Linked DNA regions of Homo sapiens: region 1 is linked to region 2. The links are contacts of gene promoters, found by promoter capture Hi-C in blood cells and fetal thymus (Javierre and others, 2016). All regions are on one chromosome and are shown on one strand. The core of a region is centred on a gene start or on the middle of the fragment in contact, and the rest is flanking DNA. Distances in the headings are between cores, read along the strand shown. Region 1 holds the start of RSRC2 (arginine and serine rich coiled-coil 2). Region 2 holds the start of RAB35 (RAB35, member RAS oncogene family).

What was found. The method cuts DNA at HindIII sites, captures the fragments that hold promoters and counts their contacts. A CHiCAGO score of 5 or more calls a contact.
Region 1: the fragment with the promoter of RSRC2 here is called in contact with the fragment with the promoter of RAB35 in region 2 in 1 of 17 cell types (total CD8 T cells); the score reaches 5.3 in total CD8 T cells.

What each region holds. Positions count from the first base shown.
Region 1 is chr12:122,525,102-122,529,809 of GRCh38, forward strand. It overlaps RSRC2 (arginine and serine rich coiled-coil 2), which reads right to left and starts at 1,835. Exons shown (of 10, transcript NM_023012.6): 1 at 1,747-1,835. The coding sequence starts at 1,752. It overlaps KNTC1 (kinetochore associated 1), which reads left to right and starts at 2,148. Exons shown (of 64, transcript NM_014708.6): 1 at 2,148-2,250. RefSeq lists enhancers at 1,515-1,974, 4,082-4,181. The HindIII fragment of the contact is 2,543 bases long and covers 1,820-4,362 here.
Region 2 is chr12:120,114,104-120,119,396 of GRCh38, forward strand. RAB35 (RAB35, member RAS oncogene family) reads right to left here and starts at 2,650. Exons shown (of 6, transcript NM_006861.7): 1 at 2,496-2,650. The coding sequence starts at 2,547. RAB35-AS1 (RAB35 antisense RNA 1) reads left to right here and starts at 2,804. Exons shown (of 1, transcript NR_182302.1): 1 at 2,804-4,900. RefSeq lists enhancers at 1,841-2,633, 2,634-3,425, 4,218-5,009, 4,429-4,528, 4,559-4,628 and 1 more and silencers at 2,351-2,480, 2,581-2,890, 3,051-3,400, 3,491-3,550, 3,538-3,716. The HindIII fragment of the contact is 4,184 bases long and covers 441-4,624 here.

The sequences.
Region 1 (4,708 bases), core at 585-3,084, 2.4 Mb after region 2:
GGTGGCTCACTCCTGTAATCCCAGCACTTTGGGAGGCCGAGGCGGGTGGATCATCTGAGGTCAGGAGTTCGAGACCAGCCTGGCCGACGTGGTGAAACCCCGTCTCTACCAAAAATATAAAAAAATTAGCCGGGTGTGGTGGTGGGCGCCTGTAATCCCAGCTACTCGGGAGTCTGAGGCAGGAGAATCGCTTGAACCCGGGAGGCGGAGGTTGCAGTGAGCCAAGATCGCGCCATCGCACTCCAGCCTGGGCGACAAGAGCAAAACTCCGTCTCGAAAAAATACAAAAAAACCTGCAACCCAAGAAAAATAGTATTACTCTTTAAGTATACTGAGGCCCAAAACACTAAACAAAGGAAGACAGTAAAAGAAACGGGTTTAAACTCAATCACCTAAATAATAGAGGGGTATGGGGGAAAAAGAAAATCATCTGCCTAATCCCAGGCATTCCAATCGTTAGGAAGAGCAAACTTTAAAACTATCACTATGTTTAAGAGTCATAATTATTATCGAAAATGATGTAATTTTTTAGTCAGTAAAAAGGAATGCAAAATCTTTACATTTTCCTTTTAACGGAATAAAAATGAGGTAAGCACAAAATAATGTGGATCCGTCAGAATTGGGTATCTTATACACACGCAGGCTTATTGTTCAGAATAGATAATTTACGAACTGTAGCTCCTCTGGGGTCAACGAAGAGTTTTTTTTTTTTTTTTTTTTTTTTTTTTTTTTTTTTTTGAGACGGAGTCTCGCTCTGTCACCCAGGCTGGAGTGCAGTGGCGGGATCTCGGTTCACTGCAAGCTCCGCCTCCCGGGTTCACGCCATTCTCCTGCCTCAGCCTCCCAAGTAGCTGGGACTACAGGCGTCCGCCACTACGCCCGGCTAATTTTTTTGTATTTTTAGTAGAGACAGGGTTTCACCGTTTTAGCCGGGATGGTCTCGATCTCCTGACCTCGTGATCCGCCCGCCTCGGCCTCCCAAAGTGCTGGGATTACAGGCGTGAGCCACCGCGCCCGGCCAACGAAGGGTTTAAATTTAAAGGAACAAGGTCAGTGACAAGACTTAACTGTAACGCTTCTCGGACTTCAAATTGATTACATCACGGGCCACTTCGGAAACCGCGCATCAGTCAGAATTGGTAGTTCCACAACCTTTTAAGTTGAATTTTCACTCCCTTTCAGCAATACCTTCCTAGCTCGTTAATACACAATAATAAGGTTTACACGGACGAACACTAATTGAAATTATGCAACTAGAAGCATCTCATTGAGCGTACAAAAAAAAAAATAGCTACAAGTCGCTCTCTTCTCCCACACTACCCTTTACAGACACTGCCTTTTTGACCCAATACTTTTCAGAGACCACTCCTGATCGTCTTTCTCTTCCCCAGCCCCTTTCTCCACCGCAAATTCTCAGGCCCTAAAAAAAACTTAGAATAAATCACTAGCCAGGGTGAATAAGCGAAAATGGAGGAAGTTCAGTGAGGCGAAAGGAACGTAGGGTTGGGGAAGAGAGGAGGAAAGTTCTGGAAAAAAAAAGGCACTCCCTGCGGCTCCCCACCCCCACCAACACCGCCTTACTTCCCCCTCCCTACAGCAGGCAGCCATGATGGCGGGCGCAGAAGAAGGCCGCGGCGCCATTTTGTCTACACACATACACACGAACAAGGTTCTGGGAGCCGTTCACCCACTGTTGGAACGTAGCAGAAAAATATCCCTGGCTTTAAACTCAGATTCGGTACCTACCGCCATAGTTCAGAGTCCCGGCCGCTAGAGCGGCGCCTCCACTTGTCGCTTTCAACAGTACCGGCCGCTCCGAAGCTTCGCCTCAGACTAAATCGCTCGCGCGAGAGACCCGGATGGCACAAAGGCGAGGAGGCCCGGCGCGTCGCACAGCTTGCTGGGAGAAAAAGGGGCGGTAACAAAAGTTTCTATAACAACGCAATTCGAGGCGGTGATTGGGTGTTCTTTCATAGGGGAGTGTAAAGACCGTGAAGAGGGCGGGGCCAAGAATACACCCCCGGAATGCGCAGTCGGGAGAACGGAATGGGCGGAACTCAGGGTGGGGCAACTTCCTATTTCGAGTCTAAAGTAATCTTGGTCTCTTCCGGCCGCCGTAAAGGGGTTGGGTTTAGTGTTCTCCCGCCAATTTAAGCCTGTGGCATGGAACCTAAAGACTAGAGGCGGTTGTGTGAGTCAGGAAGAGGGGCCAGATATCTGAGTGTTCCTCTTTAGTTTCTTCAATTGCAGGTGAGGACGGGGAGCTGCGCTGTGTAGGGAACTGGGGGTGGGTTCAGGACGAAGTAGCTGCAGCCTCTGCTCAGTTCCTGTTGTTTTCCCCTTGACGCTGGCAGGAGAGAGGTTGGAGTCGGTTTTTGCTGGCGGCGATGTCCAGCGGAGAGCGTTTAAGTATGGAGGCCTAACTGACAAGTGTTTCATCTTGCTCATTCTCTCGTATTCGCGAATCTGTTCTGCATTCCGCCGCCAGAGTGATCTCAAAATTATAAAATCAGACCACTCGTTTGCTGAGTTCCCCTTCTACCCCTTGTACTGAGAATAAAATTCAATCTTGAGGTCGAGGTTTTATTGGACTCCACTGCTCTCTCCCTCACTGTCTTCTGCTTTTGCTTTGACCCGGCAGCAGCATCAAACGCTTCCTACCCAGCCTCCGAGTCTTTGCACTCTGTTCCCTCTGCCTACGTCGCGTTCCGCCTAAGTTTTGCGTACTTCTTGTTATTCAGGTCTCAGCTCAGATGTCACCTCCTTCCCTTCCCAAACAAATCCTTCTTCAGCGACGCCTCACCTTATCCATTTAATCACTGTTTCCTTCAAATCATTTAGCACTTTTTGTAATTATTTGTGCAGTTGCTTTTTTGTGGAGGTAGCATAACAAGATACGTATTAACAATTTTATTTTTGTCCGTTTTTCCCGCAAAAACATAAACTTCATAATGGCAAAGACATTTTGTGTTCTGTTCAAGCTATATTCCCAGTTCCTAGAAAGGTGTCTGGCACATAGTAAATAGGTATTCAATAAACATTTGTTGAATAAGTAAATATGGCAGTTACGGGCGGTTTCTCTATTTCACAGATGTGGGAAATTGAGACCCATAAAGGTATTCATTCCAACCTGTCCCTCCTTCTTCATCTCCTCACTCCCACCCAAACACCAGCCACTGAAACTTCTCTATTCTCCAAACATGTTTTGTTTCTGTTCCCTTGCTTATGCTCTTAGGAAGAACTCTTTAAACATTTATAAAACTATGATCTTCAATTCTCAGCCCAATAACAAATTAGCTAACACCTAAAATTGAATGTTTGCCATCAACCAAGCATTGTTCTGTGAACATTTAAAACTCAAAACATTTGGAGGCTGAAGCAGAAGGATTGCTTGAGCCCAGGAGATCAAGGCCAGCCAGGGCAAAATAGTGAGACCCTCGTCTCTCAAAAAACCAGAAGTGAAAAATAGAAAACTCCTTCAGGTGGGTACAACTAAATTAGTCCCTTGGTATTGGTATCCATGGGAGATTGGTTCCAGGACCTCCCACAGATACCAAAACCCTAGGATGCTTAAGTCCCTGTCATTAAATGGCATAGTATTTGCATGTAGCCTAGGAACATCTGCCTGTATACTTTAAATCATCTCTTGATTTCTTATCTTGCGTAACAGTGTAAATGTGCTATGCCTGTAGGTGCAATCTAGGGATGTGGAACACATGGATATTGACGGCAAACTGTATATATATATTTTTTTTCCAAGACGGAGTTTCACTCTTGTTGCCCAAGCTGGAGTGCAAGTGGCACGATCTCGACTTACTGCAACCTCCGCCTCCCGGGTTCAAGCAATTCTACAGCCTCAGCCTCCTGAGTAGCTGGGATTACAGGCGCACACCACCACGCCCGGCTAATTTTTTGTGTTTTTAGTAGAGAGGGGGTTTCGTCATGTTGGCCAGGCTGGTCTCAAACTCCTGACCTCAGATAATCCACCTGCCTAAGCCTCCCAAAGTTCTGGGATTACAGGTGTGAGCCACCGCGCCGGCCTGGTCTGTATATTCCTATTTTATAAATTAGAGAATTGAGGAACAGAAAGATTAAGTGATCACCCAAGGACAGCTGCCTAGTCATTGTGAAAGAGCACCAAGTCAGAAATTGTTTCTACCTTGTGCTATACCTTTTATAGATATTGAAACATACTTCTAGTAGCACTTATGAAACCAATTGTAATTATTTGATTATCATTCCCTACCAGTCTTGATCCAAGGATTGTTTTTATCCTTAGTGTTCTTTTCCCACCCAGACTCCAGGTAATATGGTTTATGTAAACCTTTGCTTTTTGAGATGGGTAAACCTCATAAGGTTTCAAGCTTAGTCTTTGATCCAGAAACCTAATTCATTTTTTTCTCCTCCCCTTATCATTTTTATTTGTTGTATAATAATACTATGATAGCATCAATGGACTTTTTCTGAACTTCATCTGGAATCTTATCATCCTATGATATCCCTGACAATCTGGCATCTAAACCTACACTGTTTGCTGCTATTAAAGGTTTATTTCTAATGAAAGGTTTATTTCTAATGAAAACTTGGTATAATTAAAGGTTTATTTCTAATGAAAACTTGGTATAATTCCAAACTAGACACACAAAGTAATGGAAGCTCTAAGATACATTGGTAAGATCAGAATTGTTGGTTTGTGTGCATAAACCAA
Region 2 (5,293 bases), core at 1,400-3,899:
TTTTTTTAAGACGGAGTTTCATTCTTGTCGCCCAGGCTGGAGTGCAATAGTGCGATCTTGGTTCACTGCAACTTCCGCCTACCAGGTTCAAGCGATTCTCCTGCCTCAGTCTCCCAAGTAGCTGGGATTACAGGCACATTCCACCATGCCCGGCTACTTTTGTATTTTTAGTAGAGACGAGGTTTCATCATGTTGCCCAAGTTGGTCTCAAACTCCTGTCTTCAGGTGATCTGCCCGCCTTGGCCTCCCAAAGTGATGGGATTACAGGCGTGAGCCACCGCGCCCGGCCTTAAGCCTTAGTTTCCTTATTTGACAAATCACACAGGGGGCGGGTGAGAATAAGCGTCTGTGAAATCGTTCAACATATCTTAAGGAGGCATTCACACAAGGAGCCCAGTTCAGGGGAGTGTGTAATGTCAGTCTCTGGGCTCAGCTGCCAAAGCTTAGTCTGGACTTCCATGGCTACCATCTCCCAGCTTTGAGGATCTCAATGTCGGGAGAAATCAAAGAGCACAGCATCCATCTCCTCTGCACAACCTACGCCTACATGGCTGACCTAGGAGCTAGACCACATAAATCTCGACCCAATGAGTCTTCTCCCACACCTGACTTCGGAGAGAAAAATCAATTCATCACACAAAATGTACTGTGAGAAAGCGGGCCAAACCCATCCCCTGGGCTTTACAGAGGAGAAGAGCCAACAAGCTGCATCTTCCTGCTGAGTTTAGGCTTTTCACTGTTGGATATCAACGCAGAGGTCCAGATGTCTTGCAGAGGGATAAAGGCTCCTGACCACGGCGGGCTGTCACTCCAAAAAGAGAGAAATGGCCCCAGTGCCAGTCCCTCAGAACCCAGGCCAGGGCTGCAAGGAAATCATGTAAAGGAAGAAGCCTCAAGACCCTGAAGAATACCAAAGGCCATCTCCAAGAGAACACTCCAGAGCTTGCCTGGTTTCCCTTCATTCAAACCATAACCAGTCAGTACTCCACCTTTCTACCTCCTTCCCCAACCTCAGTTACTCTTCCATCTCCCTGGTTAGCCCCCAGCTTTCCCCCTTACCTCTCCCCTCCTCCAGCAACCACGGAAACCTCAGCCATCCTTCACCTGATCCAAACCACCAACCACATCTCCATCCAGCTTTAAAAGGGAGGCCAAAACCACCCACTTCCCTGACCTAGCTCTGACATCGCTACCCAACACTCCTACATCCCAAGTCATACCGCTCACTTGATTTGATCCCCTTTCCTTAACAGTCCATGGGCTCTACCACCAGCCTGGCCTCTGCCTCCAATCATAAGACATCCCTCCCCACACTCAGCTCAGGTCTGGTCTACAAACTGAGCATGCTCCCAAGACTCTTTCATGAACATCATATAACCCCAGCACCTCAGTTTCGCTCCCATAAACCTTCTGGGGCCTGCCTTCCTGACCTCTTGGTCACTCCATAAACCTGCTCACCTGCCACACTCCAAACAGCTCTAAAACCCTCCACCTTTTCCCAGAAACCAGTCTACCTTTTCGAAGGACACTTAATATTCATTAATTCCTTCTGCAAATATGTCTTAAGCATGTACTGGGTGCCAGGCACTGTTCTAGGCACTGGAGCTAGAGCAGTGATCAGAGCTAGGAGCCCTCAAGCAGTGTGTGTGTGTGGCCAAAGCACTTTTATAATTTTGGCTGTCCCATCCCCAGGACCCCTCTGTATATAGTAGTGTAACAGCAAACAGTGACAACTCACTATGTGCCAGGAGCTGTGAGCAACACTGCAGAATCTCACTTAATACTCACATCAACCCCATAAGGCAGATCCAACTATCATTCCATCTTACAGATGAGGAAACTGAACCACGCAGGGATATAATAATTCAGCAGGAATATGCCAGACCCTGTGCAAAGCCCTTTATCCGACTTACCTCATTTAAACCTCACGGCAATCCCATGAGGCAGGTTCTGAGAACGTCCTCATTTTAGATGGGAAGAAACTGACGCTTATAAAGGATACTGATGATAATGACAATAGTGAACATTTACTTCGAGCTTACTTTACCGGGTAGGGCGCTACGCACTTTTCCTACTTTATCCCATCGAATCCTCACACCACCCAGCAAGGCACATCCCCACTTCTCAGATGAGGGAACTGAGGCTCAGGACGGCGAAGCAACTTGCCCAAGGTCAGCGCGAGGCAGGTGGTAGTCCTGAGACTCGAACCCACGTCTCTCCAACTCCAGAGATCGCGCGACTTGACCAAGGTCACACGTGAGGCAGGAACAGGCGCGATGACTGGACCCGGCGCGCTTGGCCCCTCCGCCCCGCGCCCCAACCTCCCCTCGGCGCGGTCCGGAGCCCCTCGGCGCACCCCTGGGGCCCAGACCGCCGGGCTGCCCCGCCCGCCCGCCCCGCACGGGCCGGCACCTCCCCGCCCGCCTGCCGCCCCGAGGCCCCCGCGGGCCGCGCCCGGCAGGGCCCGCGCCGCCTCCGGCCGCTGCGGCCCTCACCGCTGTCGCCGATGATGAGCAGCTTGAAGAGGTGGTCGTAGTCCCGGGCCATGGCGGGCGGGGGCGGTGCGCGCGGGCGGGCGGGGTCGGTACTGGCCTCGCGATCCGCAGCTCCCTTCGGGCTGCTCCGGCAGCGGCGGATCCACTTCCCGAACAAACAGCCGGAACTGACAGAAACACCTCCCTCCGCTCCCCCTCCTCCTCCTCAGCAGCCGCCGCCGCTACCACCGCCTCCCTCCTTCCCGCCCCGCCCCACCACTGCGCAGGCGCAGCGTCTGGCACCGCCTTGCGCAGCCGCAGCCTGAGCCGGCCGCGCCCGGGTCGCGCACGCGCCCTGACGGAGTCCCAGCAAGCGCGGGCCCGTCTTCCTCGCGTCTCCTCGGGGAGCGTCGTCGCCGCCACCCTGGGCGCTGAGAGCTTGCGGAGCCGAGCCGCTGTCGAGTCCCAGCGGAAAGAAGCCCAAGGTGCCGGAGAAGCCCGGTCGTGGACGTTGTTGCTCCCTCATCTTCGAGACCCGCACGCCCTGCGGAGAGGAAATGACAGGCACGCCGCGACCGTGGGGCGGGGCTCGCACGAGCTCCGGGTTTCCAGAGGCAGGGGCCGGGGCCGTAGAAGGCAGAGTCGCGCGGGGAAGGCCCGGTACCCCGCCCCTTCCGCACCGACCCCTCCCCCGCGGAGCTGGCCCCGGCCCCGGGCCTGTGGAGTGGACGCCGAGGGCGGCGGGCGGCTTCCGAGTTGGACAGAACGGGAGCTGCCGGCGGGAGCAGAGCTGCGAGGAGGTGGCCTTTGAGGGCAGCGCGGGGTCGAAATCCCATCCCAGCGCTGTGACCTCTTGGAGCCCACATTGCCTCTTTGGTGGAGGGGAGGGAGTGGTCCAGCTCCGAGCCGAGCCTGGGAGCTGAATGACCCAGTGTGCAAGGCGCACCTCGGAGACCGAAAGCAACCGCTCCCCCGGCTTCAATTTCACACCACCTGCAGATACACGTCTCAGAATCTGCGGCTAGGAAGACCTGGGCCGCCAGAAGCTAAACGTGTGCATTTTGTCATCAGCCCCGGTTTCTCGTTTTAGAGTGAGTTCCCACCTGCCCTACCTAAACTGACCTGAAACGGAAAGTTGTATGCCCCCACGACCATCCTCACTGCAGAACTGCAGAGGGTTTTAAGCTCCTTATTACCTGTTTCTTATAATCCTGTCCCTTTCCAGGCGAGTATTTATCGGATAGTTCTACTTGTTTTATCAAACTTCCTTTTCTTTTGACTTTATAAAAAGCAATGCCGGGAGGCTGAGGCGGGAGAATCGCTTGAACCCGGGAGGCGGAGGTTGCAGTGAGCTGAGATCTCGCCATTGCACTCCATTCTGGGCAACAAGAGCGAAACTCCGTCTCAAAAAAAAAAAACAATGTTCGTCCTTAAAATTATGTGCAGAAGTTTACTGAAAAGTACAAGTTACTATTTTTCCTTCTGAAGCACTCCTCACAGGTAACCCCTGTTAGTTTCACAGGTAACCTTAAAATGCTTAACACATATTTGTTGAATGAATAAGTGCCCCCCAGTGAATTTCCTTTGCCTGTACAAACATATATGTACATACCTTGCTTTTTCTATTTAACAGTACACTTTTATCATTTAACATCTGCGTGGTATGGTACTCCATCCGATAACCATCGGATGTACTATTATTTAACCACTCCGCTATTAATAGACATTCATGCTGTTTATATTTTTTGGTTATAATAAACATTGTTGCAGGCGGGATCATTGAACAACACATGGAGTGTCTGACTCAAGCCTTGAGTTGTTTTTCCGGGAGCTGAGAATCAGTGTGGTGATATCGAAATAACATGAGCTTGGAATCTGAAGGTACTGGCTAGGGAGAAGAGCTGCTCATGTGCTCCCGATAGAAAGTCCCCCTTGGTCGGGAAGGTTAGGGCCATCCTCTGACTCAGCAGTTTTAGGAAATAGAGGGGGAGAAGGAAGGTATGTACCTTCCTTCCACCAGGGAGGCACGCCCAGCCCTAACCAGCCAGCGAGGCAGTAGGTCCTCCTAGCTCATCTTCACAACCTGGGCTGGTGTCGGGAAGACTTTCGTTCCAATGCTAGCTTTGGAATCCTGGCCTCCATCCCTTAAAAGCTTTGTGATCTTAGGTAAGTCACATCACACTATCTCAAAGCCCCCGTTTCCTCACAGAATGGTTGTTTTAGAGTTATGTTTGTAAATTACCTGGCACATGTAGGCATGTGACAGACTGTAACCAATGTTACTCAAGGTCATTTTGCACTGATTCATACTTTGAGCCATTTCCTACTGTAGACTCTAGCACACATTTTCAAGGCAGCTTCCTGATAATAAGGCTGTAGGATATTTTTGGGAAATAAATCCAAATTGGCCATTAAAACCAGATTCCTGACTTTGCCTGCATGTGTCATCTGGAAAGCAATCGGCATAAATTCCTTCATTTCTTTGGTAACTATTTAATGAGTGTTTATGTGCCACGGATTGCAGAGGTTATAAGAAGAGAGCCTTAGGCCGGGCGCTGTGGCTCACACCCATAATCCCAGCACTTTGGGAGGCTGAGGCGGGAGGATCACGAGGTCAGGAGTTCAAGACCAGCCTGGCCAAGATGGTGAAACCCCATCTCTACTAAAAATAAAAAAAATTAGCCGGGCACGATGGCAGGCGCCGGTAATCCCAGCTACTCGGGAGGCTAAGGCAGGAGAATCGCTTGAACCCGGGTGGCAGAGGTTGCCGAGATTGCACCACTGCACTCCAGCCTAGGCGACAGAGCAAGACTCCGTCT